2 separate regions of the Homo sapiens genome follow, and region 2 is linked to region 1. The links are contacts of gene promoters, found by promoter capture Hi-C in blood cells and fetal thymus (Javierre and others, 2016). All regions are on one chromosome and are shown on one strand. Each heading gives the region's core, a stretch centred on a gene start or on the middle of the fragment in contact. The rest is flanking DNA. Distances are from core to core; before and after follow the strand shown. Region 1 holds the start of PYDC2 (pyrin domain containing 2). Region 2 holds the start of OSTN (osteocrin).

What was found. The method cuts DNA at HindIII sites, captures the fragments that hold promoters and counts their contacts. A CHiCAGO score of 5 or more calls a contact.
Region 2: a contact is called between the fragment with the promoter of OSTN here and the fragment with the promoter of PYDC2 in region 1, in 17 of 17 cell types (total B cells, monocytes, neutrophils and 14 more). The highest score is 27.7, in total B cells.

What each region holds. Positions count from the first base shown.
Region 1 is chr3:191,459,861-191,462,560 of GRCh38, reverse strand. PYDC2 (pyrin domain containing 2) reads right to left here and starts at 1,398. Exons shown (of 1, transcript NM_001083308.1): 1 at 1,105-1,398. The coding sequence starts at 1,398. The coding sequence ends at 1,105. The region is part of intron 1 of PYDC2-AS1 (PYDC2 antisense RNA 1); the gene reads right to left. The HindIII fragment of the contact is 8,936 bases long and covers 1-2,700 here.
Region 2 is chr3:191,197,840-191,200,539 of GRCh38, reverse strand. It overlaps OSTN (osteocrin), which reads right to left and starts at 1,299. Exons shown (of 5, transcript NM_198184.2): 1 at 1,233-1,299. The HindIII fragment of the contact is 2,884 bases long and covers 1-2,547 here.

The sequences.
Region 1 (2,700 bases), core at 149-2,648:
AGTTCCTGGAATCAATGAGAAAAAGACAAAACAAAACAAAAATGGAATAAAAAAGGAAAATTGTCAAGAGTATGAATAAATAGTTCATTGAATGGAAATATTAACGGTCTTTAAACATATGAAAAGATGGTAAACATTCATTGTCTCATTTTTTGCATTTTTAACATTTATTGAGATATAATTCACATATCACACAACTCATTTAAAGAATACAATTAAATGTTTTTAGCTTATTCACAGATATGTACCATCATCACCATAGTTGATTTCAGAATATTCTCATCACCTCGAAAAGCAATCTTAAATGTTTTAGCTATTACTCCCTATTCCCCTCTACTCACCAACTCTCCTTCCCAGTCCTAAGCAACCTGTTATCTACTTCTGACTCTATAAATTTGGCCATTCTGAACTTTCCTATGAATGGAATCATATCATATGTGATGTGACCATATAATATTTTGTCTTTTATGACAGGCTTCTTTCATTTAGCATAGTGTTTTCAATGTTCATTCATGTTTAAGCATGTGATCAATACTTCATTTTTGTCGAATAATATTTCATTAGCTGCATATGCCACAATTTGTTTATTCATTTGTCCATTCACAGACATTAGGTTGTTTCCACCTTTTGGCTATTGTATACAATGACACTATAAACATTTGTGTTTATGTTTTTATTTCTCTTGATCATGTACTTATAAATATAATATTAGATCATATGAGAACTCTGTTTATCATTTGAGAAATTGCCATCCTGTTTTCCAAAGTGGCTGCACAATTTCACATTTCCATAAGCAGTATATGAGGATTCTAGTTTCTCCACATCTGTGCCAATACTTGTTATTATCTTTCTATTCTAGCCAGCCTAGTGGATATGAAGTGGTATCTCATCATAGTTTTGATTTGCATTTCCCTGAATACTAAAGTTGTCAGGCATCTTTTCTTTTAATGTTTGTGAATTATTTCACCTTTATTTATCTCAAAATACTGGTGATATAGATATTTCATATATAACAAGGTTAAGCAACATGTGCATGTAAAATGGAGGCAGAACCAAGGCTAAAGCAACATCTAGCTCAGCCATCAACTCACTATCCCTGAGGGGTTAAGGTGGGGGCATCACACAGTGTTCATCAGCTCTCCCAGACAGATGCGTTTGATTCATCTTTTCAAAGACCTGGATGGCTGCCATCCCTGCCCAGTAGCTGCAGGAGTGGCTGGTGAAGATTTCTACCAGTTGCTTCCCATTAGCCTTGTCTACCTCTGTCTGGGGGACGGTCTGTAGCTCCTTTCCCAGGGAGATTGTTCTGATCAGAGACTTGAACTTGCTCAACTCATCCTGGCTGAGCTGCTCCAGAAGAGCCTGCAGGTTGAAGTCCAGCTCTGCAGAAGATGCCATCTTGTCCTATGTGGGAGCTCTCCCAACGCCTGGCCCTATGCTCTGGTTCTCACATTTTTTCATATACTAATAAGTATATATTTTTATATCTTTTTAGAAGAAATATCAGTTCAGATTTTTGCTCATTATAAAATTGCGTTATTGTCTTTTTATTGCTGAGTTGTAAGAGTTCTTTATATAGTCTAGGGACAGGTCCTTCATTAGATACGCGATACGCAAATTTTTGCTCCCATTCTGTGAGTTGTCTTATCAGTTTAATGATGGTGTCCTTTAAGGTACAAATGTTTTTCATTTTGATGAAATCAAATTTATCTATTTTTTTCTTATTTTTTATGCTTTTGATGTCATGTCTAAGAATCTTTTGCCAAGTCTCAGGTCATAAAGATGTACCCCTATCATTTACTATAAGAATATTACAGCTTTAACTCTTACATTTGGGTATTTGATATATTTTGAGTTAATTTTTGTATGTGGCATGAAATAGAGGTCCAACTTTATTCTTCTGCATGTAGAAATCTACTTGCCTAAGCATCATTTGTTGAAAAGTCTATTCTTTCCCCATTGTACGGTCTTGAAACCCTTGTTGAAAGTCAGTTGACCACAGATGTACGGGCTTATTTTTGGACTCTCAGTTCTGTTTTATTGAGCAATGTGCCTATCCTTATGCCAGTACCACATTATCTTAATTACCATTAAGATGCTAAGTCATGAAATGAGGAAATACTAAATAAATTACTAAGTCATGAAATAAGGAAAGGTGAATTGTCTTTGTTTGCTCTTATTTTTCAATATCATCTTGGCTGTACTGGGTCTATGCGATACTACTTGAATTTTCTAACTAGTTTGCCCATTTCTACATAAAGTAAGCTGAGGTTCTGACAGGGATTGTATTGAATCTGTAGATCAGTTTGGGGAGTAGTGCCATCTTAACAATGTAAATTAAGCCTTCCAATCTATAAACACGAGATGCTTTCCACTTATTTAGCTCTTTAATTTCTCTCAATAATGTCTTGTAATTTTCAGAGCATAAGTTTTACTTCTTTGTTAAAATTTATTTCTAGGTATTTTATTCTTTTTGATATGATTCTAAAAGGAATTGTTTTAATTTCAGTTTTGGACTGTTCATTACAAGTGTGTAGAAGAAAAACTGATTTTTATGTATGATCTTGTATCCTGAAACCTGGATGAACTCATTTAATAGTTCTAACAGGTTTCGAGTGAATTTTTTAGGATTTCCTATATACAAGATTATGTTATCTGCTAATACAGACACTTTCACTTCCATTCCAATCCAGTTGCCTT
Region 2 (2,700 bases), core at 50-2,549, 260 kb after region 1:
ACTTCGAGTTCTTTATTTTTGAGACAAGTTCAATTAATCTAATTTTATTAATCAAATGTTCAAATCATTGAGAGTATTTGTAAAAGAAGTTAAAATTATAGCCCTGAGGTTCCCGTGCCCAGTCAACTGAAGATATCTGCTTCTCTACTGCTCATTATTCAGTATATAAGAATCAGTTAAAAATCCTGAGAAATAAGGGGGAGAAAGCAAATGTCAACCTTAAACACTCTGAATAATTTTTGAATGAAGCCATAGTAAAATTCACTGACATGAAGGAGACCTGAACTGTTATCTACAGAAAGTGCTCCTTAGAAAAGTTCTGTAAGCGTGCTGAAGAGTAGTACCAAAGTAAGAGAAAACACAGAATGTCCCTGGTGTTTTTGGTATAACACTATCAATTCTATAACTTATATAGGCATTAAAATTACCATAATTCATTCTCAAAAATGTTAAATTTTTAGAAGGAAAACTCATAAACAAATAATAATCACATTCCTAAACCTATAGAGTCTGTTATTCAAAGAAACAACATTTGAATTGTTAGAACTGAATTCACTGAGTGCACACTAAACCTGAAATAAAATTTTAAATTTCTTCTCCAACAGAGCTCAAATGTATGTTTCAGATTAACTCTCAATTCAATCATTGAATAGCAAGAGCACTACAAATACTGAAGAACAGGCATACTCTAAGTCTACTCCAACTATGTTATTAATATCATATTTGCATATTTGACATATAAGGAGAAAAACAGAAGATGCATTAGGTTTTAAGAACATAAGAGATAGAATTTCATTAGTTTAGGGATGTTTCTTAAGCTCCAGTTTTGATAGAAATAATGAGGAAAAAACCTTTCTTTTTTACCTAGGTTGTTTAGACCACTCTTTTATATTAAACATTTTTCTAATATTACACAATTTTGAGGAAAGCAAAATAACGCTAATAACATATATATGTATAGAATTATTATTTTGCATTCACTTTCTGTTTGTTTTGAAATGGAAGAGAAAAGCAATCTTATAAATATGAAATATCTGAATAAGCAATTAGTTCTACCTTAAGTTTGCATTACAAAAATATCTTTGATTTTCTACTCATTTTAGAGAGGGAAATATTACCACTCTAATTTTAACAAAATCAAGATATAATCAAAACATTTAAAGAGTCTGTGAAAGTAAAAATAATAGTTAAAAGAAGCATTAAATCTTTATCAATTTTTACATATAACTTACCTCGTGAAAGATCAGGAGATTCTAACTTTAGAGTACTGTCTCTGCAGTTTCTCCAAAACTCAGCCCTGGTGGTGAGTTTTCTCTCTGAGTTTTTATAGTCTCAGTTATACACCCCTTACTCCAATCCCTGCCTTTGCTTTCTCTTACATCATTTCTACAGATTTTCCACTGAACATTTTCCCAAGCCTCTCTTCGATCTCTTTCTCTCCCTCCCTCTCCCTTCCTTCTTCAGTTTCTCCCTCCCTCCTTTCCCTCCATATTTAGTCTATCTATTGCTTTGATCATGGCATTTAAATAACGATGGAAGTATAGGCTCTGGAAAATTTGAATATAGATTTAGTATTGTGTTCAGCTTCACACCCATCACCTCTTCCTGAGGTTTTAGTCAAGCTCTGATTATTACAAATCATATTTGGGAAATAAAATGCACTAAGATTTGTTAAAAAGTCACCAGGGAATTTCAATGTACGATATAGAGAGATTGTAATCAGACACAAACGGATTTATTGGTGTAATTTTTGGACCTTTAAATGATCAGCTATGGAAATAATGAGTACTTTCAGCCTCCGTCAGGTGCACAGTGCTGTGTCAGTGAAACACAATGACAGCTACTTCGTAATTAACATTGCTATACTGGGAAGGCTGTCACTAACAAACCTATAAATACTGAGCTGTGACATGTGAGCTATAAATGAAGACGTTGTAATCATTTTTGTCTTGCTCTTGTTCTTCAGTACTTTGATTTCTTTTTAACCAAAATATTTCTGCCTTTGGCTGAAGGTTTTCTTTCATTCTTATCTCCTACTAATTATATTTGCATCCTTACATACACAAATTATTTTTTAAATGAATTATTAAGTTATAAAGGTAACATGTTATGTTATTAGATCGTTAATGGCTCATTTGATTCACCAGAGGGTCCCCATCTGACAGGTAAAGAGGCCAAGGCTCAGATAAATTAAGTGACTTTATGAGATCACACACGTAAGAAGTAGTCGCAGAGCTGGATTTCAAATGCAGATCTTCCTAATTCCATATCCAGTTCTTTTCCCACGACTGCATTCTATCTCACTGCTTTAAAAGCTAGAAAAGAGAATCCAAACCAGATTATATTTTTGCACAAAAAGCAATAAATTTATTCTTTTTGGTTTCCCTAAAAAGGCCATTTAAAATACTAGTCACTAGTATAAGGACAATTACATGGTTAATTTGGATCTAGATGGGGAAACTGACCAGAGCACACAGAATTAGTGGGACAGTAAAATGCTTCATTTTTATGATGGGTTTCCAGGGATAACATATGTCTCAACAAGCTTGAAATTTGAGTAGTTGGCAGAGACAGTTCACAAATCAAGATAAAAATACAGCCTAATTGTGGACCCTTGTTTAGACATTACTGCCATAAAACAATTATGTTAGCTTGAATCCACATGATGGAAAACTCTCAATATAGAATTAATGGATGCAT